5 separate regions of the Homo sapiens genome follow, and all the other regions are linked to region 1. Evidence: promoter capture Hi-C in 16 types of primary human blood cells and fetal thymus (Javierre and others, 2016). All regions are on one chromosome and are shown on one strand. The core of a region is centred on a gene start or on the middle of the fragment in contact, and the rest is flanking DNA. Distances in the headings are between cores, read along the strand shown. Region 1 holds the start of POGLUT3 (protein O-glucosyltransferase 3). Region 2 overlaps CUL5 (cullin 5). Region 3 overlaps NPAT (nuclear protein, coactivator of histone transcription). Region 4 overlaps NPAT (nuclear protein, coactivator of histone transcription). Region 5 overlaps NPAT (nuclear protein, coactivator of histone transcription).

What was found. The method cuts DNA at HindIII sites, captures the fragments that hold promoters and counts their contacts. A CHiCAGO score of 5 or more calls a contact.
Region 2: a contact is called between a fragment that was not itself captured here and the fragment with the promoter of POGLUT3 in region 1, in 5 of 17 cell types (total CD4 T cells, naive CD8 T cells, non-activated CD4 T cells and 2 more). The highest score is 10.9, in total CD4 T cells.
Region 3: a contact is called between a fragment that was not itself captured here and the fragment with the promoter of POGLUT3 in region 1, in 3 of 17 cell types (total CD4 T cells, total CD8 T cells and naive CD4 T cells). The highest score is 7.2, in total CD4 T cells.
Region 4: a fragment that was not itself captured here is called in contact with the fragment with the promoter of POGLUT3 in region 1 in 2 of 17 cell types (naive CD4 T cells and non-activated CD4 T cells); the score reaches 5.5 in naive CD4 T cells.
Region 5: a contact is called between a fragment that was not itself captured here and the fragment with the promoter of POGLUT3 in region 1, in 3 of 17 cell types (total CD4 T cells, naive CD4 T cells and naive CD8 T cells). The highest score is 7.2, in total CD4 T cells.

The regions. Positions count from the first base shown.
Region 1 is chr11:108,496,686-108,500,172 of GRCh38, forward strand. POGLUT3 (protein O-glucosyltransferase 3) reads right to left here and starts at 1,699. Exons shown (of 8, transcript NM_153705.5): 1 at 1,480-1,699. The coding sequence starts at 1,681. LOC112267909 (a long non-coding RNA gene) reads left to right here and starts at 2,376. Exons shown (of 3, transcript XR_007062880.1): 1 at 2,376-2,965. RefSeq lists a silencer at 1,332-1,851. The HindIII fragment of the contact is 8,220 bases long and covers 1-3,462 here.
Region 2 is chr11:108,069,803-108,073,289 of GRCh38, forward strand. It overlaps CUL5 (cullin 5), which reads left to right. Exons shown (of 19, transcript NM_003478.6): 8 at 294-387; 9 at 2,530-2,660. Among named protein-coding and RNA genes, the nearest start is that of ACAT1, 50 kb to the right of the region's middle. The HindIII fragment of the contact is 4,040 bases long and covers 1-3,487 here.
Region 3 is chr11:108,168,508-108,171,994 of GRCh38, forward strand. NPAT (nuclear protein, coactivator of histone transcription) reads right to left here. Exons shown (of 18, transcript NM_002519.3): 14 at 1,421-1,536; 15 at 1,237-1,345. Among named protein-coding and RNA genes, the nearest start is that of ACAT1, 49 kb to the left of the region's middle. The HindIII fragment of the contact is 921 bases long and covers 1,376-2,296 here.
Region 4 is chr11:108,185,284-108,188,770 of GRCh38, forward strand. NPAT (nuclear protein, coactivator of histone transcription) reads right to left here. Exons shown (of 18, transcript NM_002519.3): 7 at 2,815-2,896; 8 at 1,199-1,286; 9 at 120-211; 10 at 1-36. Among named protein-coding and RNA genes, the nearest start is that of NPAT, 36 kb to the right of the region's middle. The HindIII fragment of the contact is 1,582 bases long and covers 1,304-2,885 here.
Region 5 is chr11:108,211,481-108,214,967 of GRCh38, forward strand. The region is part of intron 1 of NPAT (nuclear protein, coactivator of histone transcription); the gene reads right to left. Among named protein-coding and RNA genes, the nearest start is that of NPAT, 9.4 kb to the right of the region's middle. The HindIII fragment of the contact is 5,376 bases long and covers 1-3,487 here.

The DNA of each region.
Region 1 (3,487 bases), core at 449-2,948:
AAGACAACTTCAGGAGTGGTGTTCTGAATCAAATGTAGAAAACAAGCCACTGAGGTAGTTAAGGGAGAGGCAGATTCTTGCCTCAGCTCAAATTTCTCCAGTGGCTCTCTTTTATCTAGTTATAAAGTCATTTGCTTGGCATTCAAGGCGCTTGAAGACCAGAGGCTACAATCAACCAGGCTTTTCCGCTCAGTATCATTAAATTACAGTACTTATTTTCCCGAACACCACGGTCTCCTACGCCTCTGTGCTTCTGCACATGCCATGGCGTCCTTCTATATGCCTGCCCAGCAAACCTTCTCATCCTTCAAGTCTCTGCTCCTGAAATCTTCCTGGATTTCTCCAGTCTCTGGCAGTGCTTCAATGTTGCCACTGCACTCTGTACATACCTTCAATTATCTTGTACAGTGATCAGTTATTTGCATGTCTTTGACCAACAGACTGTAAGTTCCTTGATGGTCAGGCATTGTCTTTTCATCCTTAGATTCCCAGCAGAATTACCAAACACAGAAGTAGACATCAAAGAAGTATTTCTTGAATGAATGAAATTTTAAAAATCATTAAATCTAAAAGTGAATTATGTTTGGTTCCTAAATTCTCTGCTTTGCCCAGCTGTCAAGACCCCCTTACCCCTTTCCCAAGTTGGGACACACTTCTGGCAGCTATGTTCCCAGCTGGACTAGCAGGGGCAGAGGCACTGGTTTATTCTAATTGTCTCTTCGCTGATACAACAAGGTGCTAGTTGGCCAGAGCCCCAAATTATACATTAGCAAATCCTGACTGACAACAGCGTGAAACCAGCAGGACAAGTTTTAAGAAGTTGCAAAGGTTAAGACGTGAAGGACAACGTGGGAGGAGGACCGGGCAGAAAGGGATTCAGGACGAGATCCATCTCACCCTCCGTGGAGGGAAAACCGAATGATTTCTACTGAGTTTCCCTAGTTCCTGTAATCTGCTTTCAAAAACTCAGAACTAAAAAGGAAACAAAAAACTAACACGTAAACCCCTCCTCCTTCCTACGGCTCTGACATTTCCTCTGCGTAGGATTTCGTTGCTCCAAACCCACCAGGCCTAAGCCATGTAATCCGACGCGATCCGTCGGCTTGATGACTCACCACTGGAAAGCGCTCCCTGCAATCCCTCACAGTTCAGACAACTAAGTCCGAGATGGAAGGCAACGTGTGACTCACGGCACACTCCTTGTAACGCCCGGGCGCCGTCCATTCGCAACATCAGTCCCTGCACATTAAATGCGGAAGGGCCCTTCAAGTTCATTCATTCATTCATTCCACAAACTTTCGTGGTGATTTTTGCCCGCTTTGAGTATGGGCGGGAGGAGGGAAGAGGAGCTGACCAGACCCAAAAAGGGGCGACACACGCCGGGGAGGGACGCCACGCAGGCCGCGGGCGGACTCCCGGGCGGCGGGGACGCGCGGGGACCCGGCCGCGGGACGAGGGAGGCCGGCGGCTGGACACTACCTGCGGGAGAGCGAGTGAGGTTCTGGCCCTCCGAGTTGACCGCCTGCAGGTAGAAATAGCGGACCGGCAGGACGACGGCCGCCTGCAGCCCGGGCCCCCACACCAGGCTCCGCGGCGCGCTGACCAGCACCTCCGGGGCCCCCGCGGCCACCAGCAGGGCGAGGCGCAGCTGCAGCAGCAGGGCCCGCGGGAGGCGGCGCATGGTCGGCGGGGCACAACTGCGGTCCAGCTCCGCGGCGGCGAGGAGGGGCCGGCAGCGCCGCGGACCGGGCGGGGACTGGGGCCCACCGCGGGGCGGGTCTTTCGGGCGGGAAAGATTGCGGCGCAGGCTCCCTTTCCCGCCCGCTGTCCCGCCTCGTCTCCCTCGGGCGGGAACGCGAGCCAGTGCCGCAATCACCCACTGCGCGCCCTGTAGGGGTCGACGATGGGTGCGCCCCTTCCTCCCCGCAGCCCCATAGGCCCCGTGGAGGAAAGGGGTGGAGAGGCCCGCCCAGAGACCGAGGCTGCGAGTGTGCGCTGGCTGTTGATTGCCAAGGCTTCAGGCACGCCTGGCCTCCACTTCCAGTGGTCTTTCCCTTTCTTTTTCTTCCTTCCTTTCCTTCTTTCTTCTCTTTTCTTTCTCTGTTTTTATACAGACAAGGGGGCTGGCTCTGTCGCCTAGGCTGGAGTGCAATGGCGCGACCACAGCTCACTGCAGCCTGGAACTCGTGGGCTCAGGAGATCCTCCCGCCTCAGCCTCCCGAGTAGCTGGGACTGACTGTAGGCACACGACACCACGCTGGCTAATTTAATTTATTATTATTATTATTATTATTATTATTATTATTATTATTACTATTACTATTTGTAGAGACGGGGTCTCCCTATGTTGCCCAAGGTGGTCTTGAACTCCTGGTTTCAAGCAATCCGCCCGCCTCGGCTTCCCAAAGTGCCGGGATTACAGGCATGAGCCACCGGGTCCGCCGCTCAGGTGTTTTTAAAGGACGTAGACCCGGTGGTGATTGTTGTGGGACGATGAAAGGGTCCGGCCCCAAGATCGATGTAGTTTAGGGAAATATCTTTTCCCAAGGAATGTCTCCGAGTTTACAAGATGAGCGCCAAGGTCACGCCCCCCGCCCTCCCTCACAGCCCTCTGTTCACAGCAGCACCGTTCTCTTGTGGCCGGTTTTGTTGCTTTTCTGCTTAGCAGCCTCCCTCACAGAACCGTGATCCCCCCACCCCACACATCCCTTTCCCCGCTTCCTCCCGCACTCCTCTTCTTCCAGCAGGTGTTTACAGAACATCCACGGAGTTTGGGCCAAGCCCAGAGTGAGGAGCTGGGCACTGGGGTGGCAGAAGACCAGGCCTTGCCTTGAGCCCTTGTGCGAGCTTTACCTCAAAGCCTCTGTAATCGAAGTGGGAGAAGGGGTGGTGGTGCGTGGTTGGTCTCAGCCACCTCCACCACTCCTCAGAAGATGAACGCTGGATCCAGGAAGAGATTGTCAAGGTTACTATCTGCCTCTCTTTTTTGATCATTTTATCCAATTTGTTAATGGATACAAATTTGTTAATGGATTGTTAATAGATCTGAATTTATTTAAAGCCAATAAAGATTCTCCTCTGGCTGAATGATCCAGAAGGAACTCACACCCCAGAATGGACACAGGATTTCTGCACCCTCTTGGGGGAACTTAATGCCCAAAACATCAGAGCCAGGCACTGGACAAGCCTTTGTCCGCCTCACGGCTTTAACCGTGCTACTCAGCATTCTTGCTGTGACCAAGTTTTACCAGGGCAAAATCTTTCCCACATTTTCACACTTCTCTTGACCTATTTTAGTAATGCTAAGCAGTGGTTATGGACAGTATTCTTTGTACTTTGGAAAGGTTTCAGGAACTGGTAGTCAGTTGCCGGTAAATTTTAGGGCTAAAGTGTAACATTACTTGGTATTACTTTCACTGATAAATTTTATTTTGTGGGGATGTCTCCTTGCTTTAAATAGAAAGCTTTGCTCTGTTCCAACTATCGC
Region 2 (3,487 bases), core at 383-2,882, 430 kb before region 1:
CAGGAAGAGTTAATCAAAGTTTGGTTTTGTATATTTTTCTCTCCCCTCCTTGAGGACTTTTGTTAAAATTTCTAAAGAGAGTCTAGTTCTATAGTTTTTTTCCTTAGGGGAAAATACACTTTGGTAAACTAGTATAGCATATCCATCTTCAATAATCCTATAGTTAAGGTAAGTGAAATCTACTTTCAGTATAATTTTTTTTTTGTTGAACAATATTGTTTTATTTTGTGAGTTAGAATAGATTTGTGCTATACAGCTTATAGTAGCCTTGACTAATTTTTGATATATTTCAGCTCATGGAATGCTGTGTAAATGCCCTGGTGACATCATTTAAAGAGACTATCTTAGCTGAGTGCCAAGGCATGATCAAGAGAAATGAAACTGAAAGTAGGTAAAACATCACATAAAGTTATCATAATCTTCTAAGAGGGTATCTTTGAAACAAATCACTTACTAAGTTGCTCTTAGTTAATTCTTTTCCACATAGGTATATGTGGAACTGTTAGAGTGAACTATACTTAAGGAAATAGATAAAATATTTAACACAGAGGCACTGCTAAGAGTATATAAACTTAAATTTTAAGCATTTTCCCTCTTAGCTATCAACATCTGTGTATGTGTATGGTGAATTTCTACTTTTTTCTCAAAAGCAAGACACTGCTTTTAAAGGCCAGTTTAAACTGGAAACATATGTTATAGATTAGAACCAGGTATTTGACTTTTGTGTGGAACCTTGTGATGAATCTTTTTAGAATGTAATAAAACACTCCCTGTTAATAGTCATCTCTGTCCCCCAAAATACTTTATAAGATTTCTAAAGGATTTTTTTATTACTTCAATGTTTTCTTAAAAAGATGTGTTTTGAGAGGTAGCAAGTATATAACAAACTAAAAAAAAAAATTGTACATATACCTACTACCCCAGTAAAACTGCTTTTAACATTTTTTTGCTTTTGTTTTTTAAATAACGTACTTCTACTGAGTTTCCAGGTTTTATTATATCTAACTGCAAGGTCCTGTTTAATCTCTAGTTGCATTTAAAGTGCATATTTCAATTCACTTAAGTTCATACACTTTTTAGGAGTAATTCAGTAGTAAAAAGCAAGCTGCTTTATTGGCGTAAACAAAATACTTGTATTCTGTGTGCCAGTCTAATTAGAGTTATGTCTGATCTATGTTGCACTCTTTTCAAAAGGATTTATTTAGTGGTAATCAGTACCGTGAGGTAGGGTTTTTGTGAAGGTCAATAAAATGGCATAACATGAAAAAGTGCTTTGTAAATTGAAAAATTATTTATGAATACAGTTTTATATTCTAATCTCTAATATAGTTGCTTTCGTAATTATTACTCATGTTTTTTACCTTTTGATGATATGGCTGTATATGTAGTATTACAACTACCTTATGAAATAAACTAATCTTGTGTGTAAATAAATATTCCTTTGCACTGAAAACCAAATGACTCACCTTTTCTTTTGAGACTGGGTCTCGCTGTGTTGCCCAACCTGGAATTCGATGGCACGATCACAATTCACTGTAGCCTTGACCTCCTGGGCTCAAGCGATCCTCCCACCTCCCAGCCCACTGAGTAGCTGGGACTACAGCCGTGTACCACCATGCCTGGCTAATTTTTGTATTTTTTGTAGAGGCAGAGCCCCACCTTGTTGCCCAGGCTGATCTCCACTGCTTCTGGCCAAATGACTGACCTTTTAAAGAAAGGAGTTGGGTTTTGCAGTATTTGATCACTTTTTTTATTTTTATTTTTTGAGACCGTCTTGCCCTGTCACCCAGGCTGAGTGCAATGGTGCAATCACGGCTCACTGCAGCCTCAGCCTCCTGGGCTTAGGCATTCCTCACACTTCAGCCTCCCAAGTATCTGGGACCAAAGACATGCACCACCACACCCAGCTAATTTTGTTTGTTTGTTTTTGTGTAACGATGGGTTTTGCCATGTTGCCCTGACTGGTCTTTTTAACTCCTGGGCTCAAATGATCCTCCCACCTTGGCCTCCCAAAGTGCTGGAGTTACAAGCGTGAACCACCACACCCAGCCTGATCACTTTTAATTCGATTTTTTTTTAAACATAATTTTTAGACTAAGTACAGTGGCTCATACCTATGATCCCAGCACTTTGAGAGACCAAGGCGAGAGGATTGTGTGAGCCCCGAAGTTTGAGACCAGCTTGGGCAACATTGGGAGACCCTGTCTCTACAAAATTACAAAAAACATTAGCCAGGCATGGTGACATGTGCCTGTGGTCCCAGCTACTCAGGAGGCTGAGATGGGAGGATTGCTTGCGCCCAAGAGGTCAAGGCTGCAGTGAGCCGTGATCGAGCCACTGTACTCCAGCTTGGGTGACAGACTGGGACCCTGTCTCAAAAACAAAAAAACAACAACAAAAAAACGAACAACTACTCCTAATGGCATTGTATCCACAGAATACTATTAACATTACAAACTTAACTAATGTTTCTCTAAACTCTTACTCTAGTAAATGAAATGATTACATGAATGTGTTCTCTCCTTCCAGAATTACATTTAATGTTTTCATTGATGGACAAAGTTCCTAATGGTATAGAGCCAATGTTGAAAGACTTGGAGGAACATATCATTAGTGCTGGCCTGGCAGATATGGTAGCAGCTGCTGAAACTATTACTACTGTAAGTTTTTTTTCAATGGCAATGATAGATATATATCAAGGCTATTTTTTAAATGTAGGATTATTGAAAATAGTGAGCGGTTACCAGAGGCTGGGGGTTGGGGGAGCAGAAGAGGTTGGTTAGTGGGGTATAAAGTTATAGTTCAATAGGAAGAATAAGTTTTGGTGTTCTATTACCCATTAGGGCGGATATAGCAAGTAACAATGTAGTGTATATTTCAAGATAGAAGAGATTTTTTATGTTGTTACCACAAAGAAATTATAAATGTTTGAAGTGATGGATATAGTAGTTACCCCAATTTGATCATTATAGTATATACATGCATTGAAATATAACATTGTACCCCATAATATGTACCATTATGTGTTGATTACAAATAAAAACATTAAATTTTTAAAAATACAGAATTGAAAATTGAAAATAGTAATTGAAATTACTATTTTCTCTGTAAAACAGGGAGCTGGGCAAGGTGGCTCACGCCTGTAATCCCAGCACTTTGGGAGGCCGAGGTGGGCAGATCACAAGGTCAGGAGATCGAGACTATCCTGGCTAACATGGTGAAACCCCTCTCTACTAAAAATACAAAAAAAATAGCCAGGCGGGGTGGCGGGCGCCTATAGTCCCAGCTACTTGGGAGGGTGAGGCAGGAGAATGGCGTGAACCCAGGAAGTGGAGCTTGCAGTGAGCCGAGAAGGTGCCACTGCACTCCAGCCTGGGCGACAGATCGAGACTCCGTCTCAAAAAAAAAAAAAGGAAGAAAGAAAAAAGAAGTGGCAAAACAGTAATATTGGAACACCTTTTAGTTTTATTTTTAAGAAAAAATATCC
Region 3 (3,487 bases), core at 586-3,085, 330 kb before region 1:
GATTTGATAGCAGTTAGTTGAGTTCTCTGTATAATGAGTGCATTTAAGATACTCAGACTACTGAGAAGAAATACAATGTAATGTGTTAAGTGCTGTAGCATAGGTATCACTAAGAATTAAAGAAAAAAATAAAACCGGAATATCCACCTCAGCCACCGCTGGTTAAAAATGCTTCCTAGGAACATTTAAGTTAATTTCGAAGGATAAATAAGAACCAGATTGAGGGTAAGAGTTGGGTAAGAAGGGGGAATTCTAGGTAGAAGAGATAGCATTGGTAAAAGGTACAGGGACAAGAAAGATCACCAAGTATAAGGTGAGCAGCAACTATAGTTTGTACAAAGGGTCCATGCTGGGAAGTGGTAAGAGATGAGATGGAGAGGTCGAGAGTGACTAGATGACAAATGTATGCACATATGTCACCCTGAGAAATTTCAATTTTATCCTTTGGGCAAAGGGGAGTTGCTGAAAGTTTTTAGGCAGGAAAGCAACATATTCAGATTTGTATTTTAGGGAAAAAAAGTCACTCAGCCAGCAGATATGAGGTGAACTGAAACAACAGAGACTAAAAGAAGGGAGACTACATGACACTATTGATACAACTTAGATGAAAAATGACAAATACTTGAACTAAGAAGGAGAGGAAAATGTGTTTTAAGAGTGACTACCAGGTTTTTCACAAGTAAACAGATGGTTGGGACAATGGCTAAAACAGGGAACACAGGAAGGTAATTTGCAAACTTTAAAGCCTTGCTTCAAGTGTGGTCCAGTACCAGCAGCACTGGCATTGCTTAGAAGCTGTTAGAAATGAGGAATTTCAGGTGCTGTACCAGACCTATCAATTCAGTACCTGCATTTAACAAAATCCCCAAATAGTTCATATACACACTAAACTACAAGAAGAACTGCTCTAAAGTCTCATACAATTATACGAGGCATTCATTAAACACTTGAAAGCTGTTGGGAAAAATAGGGACTATACTTAATTTAGGGAAGCTGCAAAGAACAAACCAAGGACTACTGGGCAAAAGCTAACAGATTCAACAAAGGAGACAATTTTCTCAGAACCAAAGCTGTTCAGTAACAGTTGGCTGCATTATGACATCTGTTACTAGCAAATGTAGGGTGATCACTTGTTTTAAAATGGTTTAGGTATTCAGAAAGAAAACATTTAGGTGTTGCTGCAAACAAATGAACATACAAACATAAAGTTAACATTAATGAAATTAAAAATGGTACCTATACAAGGCTTGTTTCTTAGTCCCTGAGCCTTCTGAGATTTTGGAGGGACGGGGAATTGAGGGATACTTCTATTGCATACAGGTGCTGTCAAAGGCATATGAAGAACCTGGAAGAGAAAAAGCCATTAATTACACTAAGCTTGAAAAGCATCACCACACCATTTTCAGTTCATAAATCTTACCTGCCGAGGAGGAGTAGAAAAGTTATTTCCATTCTGTCCAACCACAGATACTGGGATCATCCCTACCATTCCTTGGAGTACAGGCTGGACTGGAGAGGCAATTATTATGGCAGATCCTAAAAAAACAATTCTTGTTAAAAAAAGATTTTCTCTGAAATGTTTTGGCACAAAACAAACAAATGTTTGGCACAAATTAATTACTGCTTTGAAATAAATTCTATGAACAATCCCTCTTCCTTACGATCCACTCTCCAAAAACAAAACAAAACAAAACAAAAAAAACGAAACTGAAACAGTTTTAGGAAAAACAGCAAGGCTAACAAATTAAGAAAAAGTCAATCCAAATATTAAGGTGGTCTTAATGTTATTCAGTCAGTGAACCATGCTGATCAAGCATAAGACTCTACAGCCAAGACATCATATTACAATCATATCTGGATTCCTCTAGAAATAATGAAACTAGTTAGAAAATGAGTGGTGAATGTTTCAAGTCTGAACCTTACACCAGAAAATTACAACCCCAACTGAATATTTATACCCAGGACTACACTTGTAACCCCAACCTATTACATATCTCAATGGTATTGATCAAAAGGGGGTAAGGTAAGCACGTAACTGGTCAAAACTATGGAGGGAAAATTACAATGTCTACATGGTCCTCAGAAGTCAACAACATAGTTTGTGGCTACTGTAATTTAGTCCTGTCCATAAACAAACTTTTGCCTAATACACTACTGTCAGGTTGATCCCCTCATTTTCATGCAACCTACTACGGTCTCTCTGTCTATGCTGGTGCTGCTTCTCTTTATAACTTACAGATTTTATAAGTTATAAAAACTTCCTTGCTTTAACTCCAAATCCTACCTTCATTCTTTAAGCTTTAGCTCAAGCCCCACATTCTCTATTAATTCTGACCTCTCCTTTATGTAATTTGTAACAGCACGTAAAACAGACCCATTAGGTTTAATACTAATTGTTGATATTTAATGAAATTTTATTGTATGTCTATAATGTAACAAAAAGGGAAAAGAGGGAAGCTTGGGAACCAACACATAAGGAAATGTAAATAAATGTGCCATGAGCACTATCTCTGAGGAACATACAATAAAAAATTATCAATATGATAGGCATATCAATCACTAACTACATATAACACAGCACGCAATAAATGCCACAAGAGCCCCTATGAAAAAAGGATTTTTTTTTTTTTTTTTTTTTTTGGAGACAGAGTCTTACTCTGTCACCCAGGCTGAAGTGCAGTGGTGCGATCTTGGCTCACTGCAACCTCTGCCTCCCAGCTTTAGATTCTTCTGTCTCAGCCTCCCAAGCAGCTGGGATTACAGGTGCCCACCACCATGCCAATTTTTGTATTTTTAGTAGATACGGGGTTTCACCATGTTGGCCAGGCTGGTCTTGAACTCCTGACCTCGGGTGATCTGCCCGCCTCGGCCTCCCAAAGTGCTGGGATTACAGTCATGAGCCACTGAGCCCAGCCATAAACAAAGGATTTTAAAGACAGAGATCAATTAGAAAGGATTTTATAAAGGAAGAAATTCAAGTTTTTTTTTTTTTTTGAGACAGAGTCTCGCTCTTGTTGCCCAGGCTGAAGTGCAATGGCATGATCTTGGCTCACTGAAACCTCTGTCTCCTGGGTTCACGAGATTCTCCTGCCTCAGCCTCCCAAGTAGCTGTAATTACAGGCACCTGCCACCATGCCTGGCTCATTTTTTTGTATTTTTAGTAGAAATGAGGTTTCACCATGTTCTCGAGGCTGGTCTCAAACTCCTGACCTCAGGTGATCGATCGGCCCACCTCGGCCTCCCAAAGTGCTGGGATTACAGGCGTGAGCCACCATAACCGGCTGAAATTCAAGTTTTTCTTGAAAATTTCTCCAAAAAGATGATGAATTCCCTGAAGACCATGACTATAAGAGCTATTTTTAAAAACTCCCCCACAACATTGGGTTTTATACAACTATGTGATGAATTAGTCTGTCTTTTCTGTTTATTGTAACTTACTAGCACATAGATTGAGAAGTATTTGTGAAAAGAAAAAAGAAAAACCACT
Region 4 (3,487 bases), core at 845-3,344, 310 kb before region 1:
TCTGTTTGCTTAGGTACTTGGGCAATATTGTTATCACTGTTAATAAAGAAAGAAAAATCTTTATTATAGTTATGCAATTAGGCAAAAACAATTAGGCATTTTAAACATATATAGCTTACCTAGTTAAAAATTTATTTATGTTTTCTGCTAGCTTTTCTTGAAGAGATTTGTTGCTTAGTATTTTTTCTCGTGCATTTTCAATAACCATTTGCTGGAAAAGAAAGCCACTGTTAGCAAAAGGACAATAAAGAGTATTCTGCTATTTAATATTTATAAGAAAAGAACAAACCGATAAGAGCTGGATAGTTTTAATAAACCTAAATGGAAACTCAGAAGTTGTGATGGCTCCCTCCATATTAATACCTGAATACAACACTTCATAATTTGCAAATGTTTTCACAGATCTTTCACCAACTCTTTCTTATACAGTTCCACACTCATCATCAAACCCCAGTAAATGCCCTATTTTTACAGTGTCGCTCTATAGCCCAGCCTGGAGTACAGTGGCACAATCTCAGTTCACTGCAACCTCCACCTCGCAGTTCAAGCAATTCTTGTGCCTTAGCCTCCTGAATAGTAGCTGGGATTACGGGCGTGTGCCATCACACCCAGCTAATTTTTGTATTTTTAGTAGAGACAGTTGTCCAGGCTGGTCTTGAATTCCTGGCCTCAAGAGATCCGCTGGCTTTGGCCTCTCAAAGTGCTGGGATTACAGGTACAAGCCACTACTCGCCGGCCAGTTTTTTTTTTTGAGACAGGGTCTGACTCTGTCACCCAGGCTTGAGTGTAGTGGTATGATCATGGCTCACTGCAGCCTTGACCTCCCAGGCTCAAGCAGTCCTCCCATCTCAGCCTCCCAAGCAGCTAGGACTACAGGCACGTGCTACCACACCTAGCTAATATTTGTATTTTTTGTAGAGAGGGGGTTTTACCATGTTGCCCAGGTTGGTCTTGAATTCCTGAGCTCAAGCAATCTGCCCACCTCAGCTTCCCAAAGTGCTGGGATTACAGGTGTTTGCCATAGCACCTGGCCAGTATTTTATTAAATGATCCAACAACAACAATGTATTTACAGATATCTATAAACTTACTCCTGTTTCTTTATTTGATACATACACACATACATACATTTGTGTATATATCTGTATTTTTAAACTCAGGAATATTTTAAGTTGCAAAGTTTGGCAGAGTCACTTACTTTTTCTACTGCAAAAGCGTTTGGATCTTGGAAATTCCGTATTGTTGAATGAGGGCCAGACAAAGTGGTACTTTTTCTCTGAGATTCACTGAAACACATTTTAAAAGCTTTTCTTTTAACCACTATATTTAACAGATTTAAAGATAAATACATATACAGACATAAATTTTAAGATCACCATAACAGAACAGATACAGTTGTCCCTGTATCTGCAGGGGGCTGGTTTCAGGACCCCCAAGGATATCAAAATCCACATGTACTCAAGTCCTACAGTCTGCACTAGGAAGCCCATGTATTCAAAAAGTCAGCACACTGCATATAGGCAGGTTTTACTACTAAATTTTTAATCTGTGTTCGGTTGAAAAAAACTTGAGTATAAATGAACCCATGCAGTTGAAACCCATGTTATTCAAGGTCAACTATATTTTCTCTATTTGTGTTAGGAACAAAGGGAAGTACAAAAAGTATTAGTAGTCTTGAATTCAAAAAAATGAGTTTGAAGTCTAGCTTTACCACTTACTACCTATGGTCTGAAGCACAGCAAGCTCTGACTCTCTAACCTACTTTATAATGACCAACTGCATTATTGGGTTTACTAAAGAATGGAATGAAATAAAGTATATATAAAGACTTTATTTAAAAAGTCAGGGTTCCTATAAATGTTAAATATTAATGTTGCTCTTTTATGGCTGGGCATGGTGGCTCACATCTGTAATCCCAGCAATTTTGGAGGCCAAGGTGGGAAGATCACTTGAAGCCAGGAGTTTCAGACCAGCCTGGGCAACAAAGTGAGACCCCCATCTCTACAAAAAATAAAAAAATTAGCTGGGTGTGGCGGCATGTGCCTGTGCTGCTGGCTACTGGGGAGGCTAAGGTGGGAGGATCTTCTGAGCCCACAAGTTCGAGGCTGCAGTGAGTTATGATTGTACCACTATACTCTAACCTGGTCAAGACAGCAAGGCCCTATCTCTAAAAATAAAAAAATGGATATTGCTGTTTGTTATTTTATATGGTGAAGTGAGAAAGGCTCCAATAAAGGAGGCTAACTAAGGTCAGTCTTGAATGAAAGACAACCAAAAGTAAAAACTCTAACAAAAATACCCAGGGCTTGGGAGCTAAGAAACTAGAATAAACATTTTAAAACTATTATCTCTTTCAAAAAATATCCTTCAAACAAAGACACACTTTTCTCAAAAGTGTTTTGGGAAAAACACTTTTCTCAAAGATTGTGCCTGGAAAAATTCCATCAATTGATCTTAGGACTTTAAATGTGTGTGGAGCATAGAACATAACTGTATTATTTACATTCAGTTAAAAAACATGGATTGCAAAAAATCTCAGATAACATCATTTGTAAGATATACCATTATTTTATATACCATTACAGAATAAACATATTTCCCATGAAACAGTGATATGCCATTAATTGAGAGATGCAACCCAATTTCAGGCAGGTTAAAATGTGAAGAAAGACAATGTATTTTGGAATAGTTCTAATATAGATCAGAACATAATCTGGTCCTATTAGTTTATTCACAATGTAAGTATCCTGATGTAATTCTTTTTTTTTTTTTTTAATGGATACGGGTAACTTGTCTCTTTTAAAAAGCATTTACCTTTTGCGTCTACCGGGAGACATTAAACTGGCATGTGCTTTCTTTTCCTGAGCACCAGGAATGACATTTAAAGCTTCTCCAGCTGTATTTCAAGAAAACATAACAGTAAGCCAAAGAAACTGAATAGTTTTCTAAACTTGTAATGGGATAAAAAGCATTAGTGATTATTATTTTATATTAAATTCAATTAACATGTACTGAGTGCCTACCATGTGTAAAGCATGGTAAAAGACACTAAGATTAATAAAATACAGTCTTTATGCCTTAAGGTTTTACAATAAAATCCAAAGTACAATATAGTCTCAACAAAAAATAATACAGTAGAATGGAAAAAGTCTAAGAAGTATAAACTAAGCATTCTGGGTGTAGAAAAGGATTTGGAAAAGGTGAAAATGAGGGAGATCTTGATGGCAACAAATTTTAGCTGCACAGAAAGATAATTGGTTTGTGAACTGAGAGTGCTAACTCCTGAATTCTAATCCCAACTCTGTTATTAACTAGCTTCTTATCCCTTAACTACCATGTGTTTTCAGAAGTTTCAAGTATGCAACAAATAAGATATACCACACACTCTCTAAGGATATTCCTAACTCTAAGGTTCAGCCAGGCATATGTAGGATTTCTAACATGTAAAGATAGAGAAGTAGAAAGGCATTCCTCATTCCAGGAGGAC
Region 5 (3,487 bases), core at 450-2,949, 290 kb before region 1:
TGCAGTGAGCCATGATTGGGCCACTGCACTCCAGAATAGGTGACAGAGTGAGACCCTGTCTTCAGGAAAAAAAAAAAAAAAAATCCTTAACAAAATACTAGCAAATCAAGTCCAGCAACATATAAAAACAGTGATGCACCATGACCAAGTGGGATTTAATGCAGTAATGCAAGGTTGGTTGAATAAAAATAAATCAGTGTAATATACTATATCCCTAACGTAAAAGACGAAAGTCACATTATCATGGAAAAAGAACTGAACAAAATCCAACCAATCTGGGCAATATAGTGAGACCCCCATCTCTGCAAAAAATTAAAAATTTAGCTGGGTATGGTGGCATGTGCCTATAGTTCCAGTTACTTGGGAGGGTGAGGTAGAAGGATAGTTTTAGTCTGGGAGGCTGAGGCTGCAGTGGGCCATAATCATGCCACTGCAGTCCAGCCTGGATGACAGAGTAAGAACCTGTTTCAAAAGCAAAACAAAACAAAACAAAACTCTACCAAAGAAACCAAAAAAAACAAAATCCAACACCCTTTCATGATAAAAACACTAGAAATAAAAAGAAATTTCCTCAACCTCATAGAGTTATCTATTAAAAAAAAAAAAAGCCAAGTAACATCATCTTCAATGGTTTAAAATTCAAACCTTTCCCCATAAGATCAGGGAAAAGGTAAGAAGGTCTGTTCTTGTCATTTCTATTCAACATTGCATGTATCCTCTAGCCAGGGCAATTAGGAAAAAACTTGAAATAAAAAGCATCCAGGCCGGGTGCAGTGGCTCACACCTGTAATCCCAGCACTTTGGGAGGCCGAGCTGGGCGGATCATTTGAGGTCAGGAGTTCCAGACCAGCCTGCTCAACATGGTGAAACCCCGTCTCTACTAAAAATACAAAAATTAGCCAGGTGTGGTGGTGCATGCCTGTAATGCCAACTACTCAGGAGGCAGAGGCAGGAGAATTGCTTGAATCCGGGAGGTGGAGGTTGCAGTGAGCTGAGATAGGGCCACTGCACTCTAGCCTGGGCAACAGAGAGAGACTCCGTCTCAAAAGAAAAAAAAAAAAAGCATCCAGATTGGAAAGGAAAAAATCAAGATTACCCCTATTTGCAGATGACATGTCTTATATAGAAAATCCTAAGGAAGCCATAAAAAACAACAACAACAACAACAAAAAAACTATTAGAGGCCAGGCACCACGGCTCATACCTATAATCCCAGCACTCTGGGAGGCCAAGGCAGGCAGATTGCCTGAGGTCAGGAGTTCGAGACCAGTCTGGCCAACATGGTGAAACCCCGTCTCTACTAAAAATACAAAAAAATGAGCCAGGCATGGTGGTGTCCACCTTAATCCCAGCTGCTAGGGAGGCTGAGGCAGGGGAATCACTTGAACCAGGGAGGTGGAGGTTGCAATGAGCCGAGATGGTGCCATTGCACTCCAGCCTGGGCAACAGAGCAAGACTCTGTCTCAAAAAAAAAAAAAAAAAAAAAAAAAAAGGAGTTAAGAAACCTCCCTGGGCGGGGCATGGTGGCTCATGCCTATAATCCAGCACTTTGGGAGGCCAAGGCCAGCAAATCACCTGAGGTCGGGAGTTCGAGACCAGCCTGACCAACATGGAGAAACCCTGGTGCTACTAAAAATACAAAGTTAGCTGGGCAAGGTGATGCATGCCTGTAATCCCAGCTATTCCAGAGGCTGAGGCAGGAGAATCGCTTGAACCCGGGAGGCAGAGGTTGTGGTGAGCCAAGATTGCGCCATTGCACTCCAGCCTGGGCAACAAGAGCGAAACTCTGTCCCAAAAACAAAACGAAACAAAACAAAAACTATTAGAGCTAATAAATGACTTCGACAAGGTTGCAGGATACACAGTGAATATATAAAAGTCAATAAATCTCAATGAACTACCAAAAATTAAGAATGCAATGCTAGTTACAATAGCATCAAAAGAAATAAAATACTTAGGAATAAGTTTAACAAAAGTAAAGGACTTGCATACTAAAAACTGGAAAACGTCACTGGAGGAAATTAAAGACCTAAATCCACGCAAAGACATACTGTGTTCATGGACTGAAAGGTTCAATATTGTTAAAAACTCAATACTCCCAAAATTCACCGATACATTCAACACAATTCCTATCATAATCTCAACTGCCTTTTGTGCAGAAATTGACAAACATCCTAAAACTCCTAAGGTAATACAAGGGGGCTGGAATAGCCAAAATAATCTTGAAAATGAAGAAAAAGTTGAAGCACTTACACTTACCAATTTCAAAACTTACTGTAAAGCTACAGTAATCCAGACGATGTACGGGCATGAGGTTAGACACAGAAATTAGTGGAACAAAATAAAAAATCCAGACCTTTCTTATTTATCTAGTCAACTCTGAAGCATGGAATCCAGACATTTATGGTCAGTTTATTTTTTTTCAGAGACAGAGTCTTGCTCTGTCACCCAGGCTGAAGTAGAGTGGCTCAATCATAGCTCACTATAACCTTGAACTCCTGGGCTGAAGTGATCCTCCCACTTCAGCCAACCCAGTAGCTAGGACTAGAGGCATGTACCACCAAATAAATGCCCAGCTAATTACTTACTTATTGGTACAGATGGGGTGTCTCAGTATGCTGCCCAGGCTGGTCTCGCTCCCCTGGCTTCAAGCAATCCTCCTGCCTTGGCCTCCCAAAGTGTTGGGATTACAGGGTGAGCCATTACAGCTGGCCTGCATTTTTCATAACAGTGTCCATTAATGAATGGACAAACAAAATATGGCATATTCATATAATGAAATATTCAGCTATAAAAAGGAATGAAGTACTAATACCTGCTACAACATGGAATAAGGCTGAAAACATTATGCTATGTGAAAGTCAGACACAAAAAGCGAAATATTCTATTTCATTTATGTGCAATGTCCAGGCAAGGCACATGTATAGATACAGAAAGTAGATTTGTGGTTGGCAGAGGACGGGGCAAGGGGGAATTGGAAGTGACTTAATAGTATAAGGATTCTCTTTGGAGTGATGGAAATATTGAAATTACTGGTGATATCTGCACATTATGAATCCATAAATATCCTGGATTTTCATACCCTGAAAAACAACGAAGTTTACATTTTGTAGTATGTGCATCATATCTCAATAAAAAAATATGATTCCAATTTTTTTTTTTTTTTTTTGAGATGGAGTCCCGCTCTTGTCACCTGTGCTGGAGTGCAATGATGCAATCTCGGCTCACTGCAACCTCTGCCTCCCAGGTTCAAGCGATTCTCCTGCCTCAGCCTCCCAAGTAGCTGGGATTACAGACGCCTGCCACCATGCCTGGCTAATTTTTATATTTTTAGTAGAGATGGGGTTTTGCCATGTTGGCCAGGCTGGTCTGGAACTCCTGACCTCAGGTGATTTGCCCGCCTCGGCCTCCCAAAGTGCTGGGATTACACGCGTGAGCCACTGCACCCGGCCTATGATTTCAAATTTTTAATGTGTCGTATGAGGTT